Linked DNA regions of Homo sapiens: all the other regions are linked to region 1. The links are contacts of gene promoters, found by promoter capture Hi-C in human tissues and cell types (Jung and others, 2019). All regions are on one chromosome and are shown on one strand. The core of a region is centred on a gene start or on the middle of the fragment in contact, and the rest is flanking DNA. Distances in the headings are between cores, read along the strand shown. Region 1 holds the start of KISS1 (KiSS-1 metastasis suppressor). Region 2 has its middle 14 kb from the start of PPP1R15B. Region 3 holds the start of LINC00628 (long intergenic non-protein coding RNA 628). Region 4 overlaps PLEKHA6 (pleckstrin homology domain containing A6).

Region 1 (2,716 bases), core at 123-2,622:
CTGCCTGACCCCAGCACACACACACACACCCCCCACACCACACACATACACCACACACACCACACATGCACACACACACCACACACATATATACGCACACACCCATACACATATACACGCATACACCCATACACACACATCATACACACACACATACACCACACACACCACACACATACACCCATACACACACATACACATATGCCACACACACCACACACGCATACACACCACACACATATACACACATACACCTATACACACACATCATGCACACACACCACACACGCACACACACCACACACACATATACACACATACACCCATACACACAACATACACACACACATACACACATCCATACATACACATCATACACACACATACACCACACATACCACACATGCACACACACCACACAGATATATACCCATACACCCGTACACATACACTACACACCACAGATGCACACACACGCCACACACATATACACACATACACCCATACACGTACATCATACACACACATACACCACATACACCACACATGCGCACACACATCACACACATATACACACATACACCCATACACACATATCACACACACACACACACACACACACACACACACACACAGATTCCACTGCCCAGCCCATCGGGGCACTTAACATATATGGTAGAAATGAATTATTTGGAAAGGGGCCATGAGTGGCCGACCTGCTGTAGACAATTTTTGTGGTTCCCTCCACCCTGGGGGGTTTGTATCCAGTGAGTGACAGAAATTCCAGGCATGGTTGGAAAGCTTCTGGAGTGAAGTGGCCCCTAGTTCTTAGTGGGTAGGTAGATGCCCTTGGTTAGGCTTGTATTTGCCATCTGTAATTTGGGGGGAGCTGCTCAGAGGAGCCCCATTGCTCTCAAGAGCCCCGAGCGGTTCCCTAGGTCCATCCAAGCGTGTCTGTGGTCTCTAATTCCAGCCACAGCATTTATTTATTGCATGTATTCCTTCCACAGCAAGAGAGAGCCCTCGGGATCCCCAGAGTGTTAGCTTCACAAATAAAGTGCGACTCAGTGTATTCGCCCAGGCATCCCAGGATAATCTGGCCAGGCTGGTAAACAGGAAAGATCAGTGTCTCCCTCCCCTGCCTTTGCCTGCCTGGATGCATCTGTCCGTCTTAGAACGGATTCCCTGCTCCCCTCCAGAGCATCCCCAGGTCAGGGCAGACCCCCTTCCCAGGGGTGGACACTGCAGTGTGCCTACCTTGCCTCAGTCCTGGCCTGGGCAGGAGTCTGGCGGAGCCTCTGAGGTGACGAGACCACCTGGCTGGGTGAATGTCCAGAGGGTGGGCAGCTGGGCTCCCGGTCTCAAGAGTTCTCCCCAGCTCCCTGATCACATCCCTTTTATAAAGCCCGGGGTGACGTCTCCAAGCACAGGCCCACTCTGCCGCCCCTCCCTCCTCCTCAGACCCTCCTGAAGAGCATGGCACCTTGGGAGGCCTCTGCCTCCGGGCTCTGTGACTGGAGGCAGCCTCTCCTCCTGCCCCACCCGAGCCCTCCGAGGCGGGACTTTCTCCTTCTTACCGGCTCTTTCCATCCTCCACACCCTCTTCCCACCCAGAGGACCCATCCTGCCCCCAAACAACGTGGAAATGGGCTATCTGAGGAGGGTGGGGAGAAGTGTCAGTGTGAAATGTCTTGTTTCCTCTCCGAAGAGCCACAGACACACCTAGTCTGAATTAGACGTAGAAAACGACAGGAAGAGGGGAGGAGAAGGGCACAGGCTGACCCAGGGGCTCCTCACATCCCATGCTCCCAGCTCTGAGGGAAAGCCAGGTCAGCGTGGGTCTCCAGGCGGCTCCTAGACTGCGCCCTGTGACTGGCACAGGGTGGTGGTGGCAGAGATTCTCTCCTTTTTCCTTCCTTCCTGCTTCCCTTCTTTCCTCGGTCACTGAGCGCTTCCTCAGCGCAGGGTTTTGAGGTGAATAGGCTATGGACTGGTCAGAGACCTTAGGTAAGCAACCAGCTATGAGCAAGGAGGACGAAATGGGAGCTGCAGAAGGTGGATGCACCTGGGAAGTGCCAGGGGTGCAGAGAGGGGACTTCCAGGTGGCAGCACATCCAGACAGCCTGCTTGGGGGCCCCACCTTCTTGTCTCGTGGCACCCACCACCATACTATTTTGTGACTGCTCAGGTACAGCACTTTGAGGACAGGGACAGGCCCCCTTCCCCCTGTACCCTTGGCACCCACTCCATTGCTGGGCACATACAGAGAGGGCCCTCAATAGATATTTGCTAACTGCATGCATCGCAAGTGACTTTTGTCTCTTTCTTGAGCCTGCAATAACTCTCTATACCCTTGGACAAGGGGCTCTCCAGGGCAGAGACTGTTTCTTCTATCAGGCTGGGAGTCTCTGAAGGCAGGGGCTATGTCTCTACCCTCAGACAGGACGCTCTCCCAGCACAAGCTCAACCTGGTCGTCCCCTAATGCTGGAGAAGCATGCCGGCAGTCTGCAGGTTAGCACCCCTCACTTGTCTGATGCTTACTGTTAACAGGGGATTGCAAACATATTATTATCACACCCATTAGGGCTGTTAAACACCAGGACAGAAATGATAGCCTATGAGGACAGCACTGACCCTCATAGACCAAAACTTCGCTGTGGGGATGATGTGTACGTTGGCCTGTCCTGAAGCAGGAGGTGGTCTTAATGGGCTGAA
Region 2 (2,716 bases), core at 124-2,623, 200 kb after region 1:
AACAAGAAGTGGGTTGGGGAGACGTTGCTCAAAGGATACAAACTTTCAGTGAGGAGGAATAAGTTCAAGAGATCTACTGTACGACATGGTGACCATAGTCAATAACAATGTATTATATTCTTGCAAATTGGCCAGGTGAGGTGGCTCACACCTGTAATCTCAACACTTTGGGAGGCAGGAGGAACACTTAAGCCTAGGACTTCAAGACCAGCCTGGGCAATATAGGGAGATCTCGCCCCTACAGATAACTTAAAAATTAGCCTGTTGTGGTGGTGTGAGCCTGTGGTCCCAGCTACTCGGGAAACTGAGGCAAGAGGATTGCCTGAGCCCAGGAGGTTGAGGCTGAAGAAAGCCATGATCATGCCACTGCACTCCAGCTTGGCAACAGAGCAAGGTTCTGTCTCAAAATAAATAAATACATAAATAAATAATAAAATAAAATAAAATAAATAAATAAAAAGCCCAGGCGTGATGGCTCACGCCTGTAATCCCAGCACTTTGGAAGGCCAAGGCAGGCAGATCACCTGAGCTCAGGAGTACGAGACCACCCTGGGCAACATGGGGTGAAACCTGTCTCTACTAAAATACAAAAAATTAGCCGGGTGTGGTGGCACGCGCCTGTAGTCCCAGCTACTTGGGAGGCTGAGACATGAGAATTGCTTGAGCCCAGGACGCGGAGGTTACAGTGAGGCGAAATTGCACCACTGCACTCCAGCTTGTCTCAAATAAATAAATAAATAGAAAAAGGAAATTGCTAAGAGTAGATTTTAAGGGTTCTTACCACAAAAAAAATGCTAAGTATGTGAGGTAATACATGTTAATTAGCTTGACTTACCATTCCACAATGTACACATATTTCAAAACATCATGTTGTAGACAGTAAACATATACAATTTTTGTCAATTTAAAAAACAGAAAAGTTTAAAAAACAATGTCCTCAACCATCTTAGAAAACTGGATATGAATGGTATCCTGCATAATGAAGTGCCTTTCATAACGATGACAATGTTTCAGCGAACCTTAGGCTACCACTGGAAAGAGTAGTCATGACGACCTTACATCAACTGATTTAAAACTTTGGGTTTCAGGTCATCACTAATAATGCTAGCTTTTCAAAAAAAAAAAAATCAAATACTACAAATACAAAATAATGTAAACATTGAAGATAGACCTTTTCACATACAAAATTGCTTCTTTGAAATGAATTCATAAATTACTTGTTATGTCGGGAGGGAGCCTGTGTGTTGGAAAAAAGAGGCTATGGAAATTACCACTTGAGTTAAAGAAAAGTGTATCATGTGTCTAAAATACTCTGGTCACTGCGCAGACCCTTCCACCACAGAGGAAGAAAGGAAAGAGCAAATCACAATTAAAATTCAATGTGACTTGAACAGTGATAAAAAAGTATACAAGGGCCAAGTGAGGTGGCTCATGCCTGTAATCGCGACACTTTGGGAGCCCCAGGCAGTAGGATCTCTTGAAGCCAGGAGTTTGAGACCAGCCTAGGCAATATAATTAGACCCCATCTCTACACACAAAAATAATAAAATTAGCCAGGCAATGTGGTGCATGCCTGTGGTCCTAGCTACTTGGGAGGCTGAGGTGGGAGGATTGTTTAAGCCCAAAAGTTGGAGGCTGCAGTGAGCTATGACCGTGCCACTGTACTCCAGCCTAGGCCTGGGCGACAGCAAGACTCAAAAAAAAAATCAGTTCCTTTGTTTGTGTTCAAATACAAATCTTGGTTCTCCTATAAGAAAGAGCCCCTACTTCTGGGTAATTACCACAAAAAGGTGGAGTCACACTGGGCCAGGCAGGCCTGGAATGGGCAGGGCAGGGCAGTTTTCCAGCTTGTTTACACATTGAGGGACCCACCTCCAGGGGAGCAATAGCAACCAGATCTGTAATAACAGGTGTCCATCAGGCACTCCCAGATGGAAGATAACGCCATCTGGTGGAGACAACAGAGCATCACTAGAAACCCAAAGCCAATCTTCTGCCAAAGAGCTAAAACCCCTGGTGTGGTGGCAAGAATACTCTGGTACTCCAATGCAGCCTATTAATTCTGGGAAAGGAGGGTCTCAGTTGATTTGCTCGCATATTAAATTCATAAATTAACAATGTGTCTTATATTAATAATGACACTAGAATTAATGGATGTGGTATACCTAGCCAAATTGAAATTTGTAATTACTTTCTACAAATTTAGTTAAAGCTTACGGTAGCTTTTCTCTAAGGACATTTAAATTCTGTGATTCTACATCATCTGATGATTGTGGCACACTTGTTTCTGGTCAGACAAGGCTGTGTGGATGAAACTTCAATAAAGCTGATAAGAGAGGTGACTTTGGGAAAGCTATTAACTTGGCCAGGCCCAGTGGCTCACACATGTAATCCCAGCACTTTGGGAGGCCAAGGCAGGAGGACTGCTTGAGGCCAGGAGTTGCTATATGGGCAACATAGCCAGACCCCATCTCTATTTATATATATTAAAAAAAAGAGTCCAGGCGTGGTGGCTCACGCCTATAATCCCAGCATTTTGGGAGGCCAAGGCAGGCAGCTCATGAGCCCAAGAGTTCGAGACCAGCCTGGGCAACATGGTGAAACCCCATCTCTACAAAAAAATTAAAGTTAGCTGGGTGTGATGGCATCTGCCTGTAGTCCCAGCTACTTAGGAGGCTAAGGCAGGAGAATCGCTGGAGCCTGGGAGGCGGAGGTT
Region 3 (2,716 bases), core at 90-2,589, 170 kb after region 1:
TGTGATGTGCCTGGGAAAGAGGCCAGTATGGATTATGTCCCCTGCCTTTTTCTAGCAACTTCCCTCCACACTGCCCTCTCTGCCTGGGCAACACCAAGAGTGCTTATATTCCCATCCAGGCGGAGTGCCCGCTGAGGCAGCTGCCCTCGCGGCAAGCTCCGGGGGCATCTTAACCCCTTCCCAGCCTTAGACAACCAGTTGGCTGCAGCCAAAAATGAAAGCATTGGCTCACAGGCTGGTATTCATCTTCCACTCCTACCTAGGATGATAATGAGGTGGAAGGACTCAACCTGTAAACAGCTGAAACACTGAAGGTGACACCACCATCAACCTGGTAGAAGAAAACAGCCCTGGCCTTAGAGTCAGGAGGCCTCGCTGCAAGTTGGAAATACAATGGTGACAATAACAGCAGCAGCCACCTCCATTTTGGGAGCCACCTCTCTGATGTAATGCTACTACTTTTTTGAGGTTCATAATCCTCTCCCCATTATAAAGATGAAGAAGCTAAGTCCAGGAAGAATTAAACCCCTAGTGCAAGAGCACACTGGAAGCAATAGAACCAAGATTGAGCTCAGATCTCTCTGCCTCCAAAATGTATGCCTTTAACCATGACACCACTTTGCTTATTAGTCAAATGGCCTTGAGCCAGGTACTTCCTCTCTGTTCTTCAATGTTTCTACCATAAAATGAAGAGTCGAACTCCATGATCCCTGAAGTCTCTTCCAGAAATGATCCCAGCTCAGAAGCTAAAAAGAAAAGGACTCTGAACAAGCCAAAGGCTTCATCCTGTGTGTCCAGCAGTGCCAGCTGTGCCCATGATTGACGGAGGCCTTGGAACCAGGCGCCTAGTGTCCAGTCCGGTGAAGCGCTGGAAGGCGAGAGGGGGAAGGGCTGGAAGGCGGGAAGGGGAGAGATATCTCCCCGCACTGTGACCCACACCCCCTCTTACTGGCCCGTGGTGGCGTCATGAGGAGGATGAATGGCTGTTCAGTTAAAGTACCTAGGCCTTGTGATTCTTGATGTCTCTACCTCAACAACTTAGACTGAAGTCTTTTTCCTTGGTTGTTTCTTCATTTCTGACCTGTTTGTGTCCCACCTTTCCCACTAGCCCTGAGGGCTACCAGTGATGTTTTCTCCATAATCAGCAATGAATGTCAGCCTTGTCCCCTTTCATGTTTCTCCTCAGTGGGAGAAACAGGCGCTCCCACTAGCTACATGGGGCCATTTACATTTGAATTAATTAGGATTAAAAATCCATCTGGGCACAGTGGCTCACACCTATAATCCCAGCACTTTGGGAAGTCGAGGTGGGTGGATCACCTGAGGTCAGGAGTTTGAGACCAGCCTGGCCAACATGGCAAAACCCCATCTCTACTAACAATACAAAAATTAGCTGGGTGTGGTGGCACACACATGTAATCCCAGCTATTTGGGAGGCTGAGGCACGAGAATCTCTTGAACCCGGGAGGCAGAGGTTGCAGTGAGCCGAGATTGTGCCACTGCACTCCAGCCTGTGCGACAGAGTAAGACTCTGCCTCAAAAAAAAAAAAAAAAAAAAAAAATTCAGGGCCTCAGTGATGCTTGTAACATTTCAGTTGTTCATTGCCACATGTGGCTCATGGCAATTGTATTGGGCAGAGCAGATAGAGAACCCTTCCATCACGACATAAAAGTTCTAGAGCGCAGCACTGGGGGCTGGCTTCTGCCAGTTCAAGAGCCCTTGAGACAGGGGATTTTCTGACTGGGCAGAGGGATGAAAGATGAGTAAAAATCTTTGTCCTCAAAGGCCCATCTCAGATACTAATTTTGGAGGTGGAAGCTTAGAGAGACACTGAGGTGAGCTCCAACAAGCCTGCAATCTCCCCCAGATGGCAGGCAGTCCAAATGCTAAGCTGAGTCCATCCATGGAGAAAGGAAAAAGTCAGAAGCAAAGTTGGGGCACAGGATTCCTGCTGCCACCTCAAGCTATTACATCCTCCTCAATTGCAAAGGCAGGGACAGACAGGTTCCTTACCTGGGCAGGAGGTGTGTCCACTCTGGATGGGTGACTTTGTTCCAGGGTGCACCCAGCTGGTTGACTTTTCCTCATCACTGCAGAAAGATCAATAAGAAAGTGTCAGCTACAAGAGAGGCTTTTCTGAGCAGGACACTCATCTCCAGATTCACATTAACACCGACTATTCAATCCCAGACACATGAGATGAGAGCATCCACAAGGCTGTTCATTCATTCACATTCACAGAGAATTATTTACTAAGCACACTCTGAGGATTTCAGGATGAATAATATCGAATCCCTAACCTCAAAGAATCTACATCCCACTGGGAAACAAATGCATAAAAAGATAGCTGCAATACAATATGATAGGCACTGTAATCCCTATTGTAACTATGTGTAGAAAGTGTGATACCATCGCAAAGAAACAAGGGCTACCTGGCATGAGGTTAAGGAAGGGGAAGCATGAAGGCTTCACGGCAGAGGCAATGTTAGAGATGATTGCTAAAGTCAGGTGGGAAAAACAAGGAAGGTCCTTAACTGGCAGCTTCTCGAATGGATAAGAAAAGGAGGAGACTGCATGAACCCATAGTCCTTATGTGTCAACAATGCTACATATTTTTCATTCACGACATTCCCTCACACTGGAAATTTTACAGATTATGAATCGAGGTTCAGAGAAGTTAAGAAATTTGGCCAAAGTCACAACCTAGATCTGTCC
Region 4 (2,716 bases), core at 153-2,652, 140 kb after region 1:
GAACACAACAGCCAAGGGTAATATGAAAGCAGGGGTGGCAAGGAAGAGAATCCCATTTCTAGAACCTGCTCTGGGGGAAGTCCTGGGATGGGATGATATACAAGTGCAGTAAGGACAGATATGCTTCGGTCCAGGTGCCTGGAAAAGCTCCCCTGTGGTGAACATGCTTCTGGGCAAGGGATGAAGGCAGACAGCATAGCTAACCCTCCATCACAGCGGGAGAGCCAAGGGTGGCAGGGAGAGGCAACAAGATGAGTGGGACGCAAAGCCTTTGTATCCTGCTCAGTCAAACCTCAAATCTTTGTCCTAAGAGAGGGAGTCAAAGACTCTGACCCTCCACACAACTTTCCTAATTACCTATGACATACATTTGTGCTCCTCATAAGATCACCACGGAGGATGGTTCTGGGGCTATCATTCCAAACTTGGTCTTTTTCTATTTGATAAATAATGATTGCATCTATTTATGGGGTAAAATGCGATGGTTTGATACATGTATACATTGTGAAATGATCAAACTAGGCTAATTAATATATCTACCACTTCACATATTTATCATTTCTTTGTGGTGAGAACATTTAAAACCTACTCTTGACAGGGCGCAGTGGGTGGTTCATGCCTGTCATCCCAGCACTTTGGGAGGTCAGGGTGGGTGGATCACTTGAGGTCAGGAATTCGAAATCAGTCTGGCCAACATGGTGAAACCGCATCTCTACTGAAAATACAAAAATTAGCCGGGCGCGGTAGTGCACACCTATAATCCCAGTTACTTGGGAAGATAAGGCACAAGAATAGCTTGAACTCAGGAGGTGGAGGTTACATGAGCCAAGATTGCACTACTGCACTCCAGCCTGGGTGACAGAACAAGGCTCTGTCTAAAAAATAAAATAAAATAAAATAAAACCTACTCTTTTAGCAATTTAAAAATATAATTTATTATTATATTATTATTAACTATAGTCACCATGCTGTGTAATAGATCACCAGAATTTATTCCCCTTGTCTAACTGAAACTTTGTACCCTTTGACCAATGTCTCTTCCTTCCCCATCCACACCCCATCTCCTAGTTTCCACTAAAGGACTTGATCTGGATGAGATCACCTATCCAAGAAACAGACAGCGGCACTTTCCCACTGGATGCTTTCCTTCCCCTTGGCCTCCCAAGGGTTAACCTGCAGATAACAAACCCCTGCCCCCACCACTTCCCCCCACACACATACACAATCTCTCCCATTCCCCACCAATCCAGGAAAGCAGAATGGCTCAGGCAGCTGGGCAGGGGGGTGTTTAGCTTGGCCTCAGCCCAGCACTGCAGACAACTCCTCTCAACATATAGACAGCCAGGCTGGCTCCCTTGGACCAAGTCCCTCCCTTCCTTCCCCAGCAGAGAAAGGCCCTGGAGAAGGCCCCTCCTGGAGTAGGGGACAGGGAGGGAGGCTGCACTTCAGGGCTAGAGAAGAGTCTGAAGGGGATCCCATCTCTCAAAGGCATCTTTACGCCGCAGTGGCCGCTGCACCTCTCCCTGCTCTTTGCCAGAGCAACTGGGTTAAGGCAAGAAGACATTGAGGGAACACCATGCAGCCCCCAGCTCCAGGACTGGCAGTGCCAGGGAGATGATGCCAGTTTTGACAAGCAGAGACAAAGGTGACCTTGGGAGAAAGCAGACAGACAAGGAGTCATGTCATTCCCTCCCCTTTTCTGTCTGGGCAGTAAATGCTGAGCCCCGGGGGAGTGAAAGGGCCAGCTGCTCTGAGCTGGGCTGTGGAGGATGACAGTGTCCATGTGGCATGGGCAGGGCACATCTGTACCTGTCTTTGGACCCAGACCCCATAGCTTTGGCTCTGCCACAGCCCCTGTCACCTCATCTCAATAACTTTGATAGCCAGCAAATAATTCTGCCATGTCACCTTTAAGAGAAGCCTCTAAAGTGTTCCAGGGCACATGCCCCTACATAAGGGGGTGGCCCAATGTAAACTTCTCTAGTGTCAAGAAGGGCTTTGTAAGGGTCCTGTACCTAATTCCATCTGGTCTTCTTCTGTCTCCAGTCACCAACTCTACCCTAAGACACAGGTCCCCAACCACACCCACTGAGCCCCCAAAACAGCTCTCAGTGCGGCATCCTAAACCCTCATCACCAACCAATCTTCCCTGTCCATGACACTGCCTTCAGACTGCAGATTAAACTGGTCCAGCAACCCACCTGCACCAAGTCATCCCCAGTCCTGTTGCCCTTGAGATGACAGGGTGCCTCTACCTCTGGTCTGGTCTCCCTGCTCCCCGCAAGTGACAATCCAATCATGCCCTGGCTCACAAACCTGCAGTGCTTCTCTACTGTCTGCAGGATGGAGGCTTGAAATGCAAGGTCTTTTACAATCCAGCCCCAACTTATTTATCCAATACGATCTTCTGCTACCACTGTACAACTGAAAGCATAGATTTGCTGTGAGTGATACAAGTCACTGGTGCCACAGGAATTCAGCGGAAGGAGAGGTTAGTTCTAGCTGAGGCCATCAGGGCAGACCTCCTGAAAGAGGTGTGTGAGCGTGTGTGTGTGTGTGTGTGTGTGTGCACGCACATACATACACTGGGGAAAATACTTAGATCATGCACTAGGCCAACTTGCATACTGCCCAGCTTGCATTCTGCCCTCCTCCTCCCTGCCTTACCCTCCCATGGGCTTGTAAGCACAAAAGACATATATTTGCAAATTCACAT

The links. Contacts are between HindIII fragments. The study calls those that stand out against the background at their distance.
Region 2: a fragment that was not itself captured here is called in contact with the fragment with the promoter of KISS1 in region 1 in 7 of the 25 tissues and cell types used here (H1 embryonic stem cells, IMR-90 fibroblasts, aorta and 4 more).
Region 3: a contact is called between a fragment that was not itself captured here and the fragment with the promoter of KISS1 in region 1, in 1 of the 25 tissues and cell types used here (IMR-90 fibroblasts).
Region 4: a contact is called between a fragment that was not itself captured here and the fragment with the promoter of KISS1 in region 1, in 1 of the 25 tissues and cell types used here (dorsolateral prefrontal cortex).

Annotation. Positions count from the first base shown.
Region 1 is chr1:204,195,119-204,197,834 of GRCh38, forward strand. It overlaps KISS1 (KiSS-1 metastasis suppressor), which reads right to left and starts at 1,373. Exons shown (of 3, transcript NM_002256.4): 1 at 1,258-1,373. The HindIII fragment of the contact is 9,045 bases long and covers 1-2,716 here.
Region 2 is chr1:204,396,783-204,399,498 of GRCh38, forward strand. It overlaps a transcript of PPP1R15B not described here. Among named protein-coding and RNA genes, the nearest start is that of PPP1R15B, 14 kb to the right of the region's middle. The HindIII fragment of the contact is 6,586 bases long and covers 1-2,716 here.
Region 3 is chr1:204,369,516-204,372,231 of GRCh38, forward strand. LINC00628 (long intergenic non-protein coding RNA 628) reads right to left here and starts at 204. Exons shown (of 1, transcript NR_027022.1): 1 at 1-204. It also overlaps a transcript of PLEKHA6 not described here. The HindIII fragment of the contact is 5,024 bases long and covers 1-2,716 here.
Region 4 is chr1:204,334,020-204,336,735 of GRCh38, forward strand. All of the region lies in intron 1 of PLEKHA6 (pleckstrin homology domain containing A6), which reads right to left. Among named protein-coding and RNA genes, the nearest start is that of PLEKHA6, 25 kb to the right of the region's middle. RefSeq lists an enhancer at 2,524-2,716. The HindIII fragment of the contact is 6,420 bases long and covers 1-2,716 here.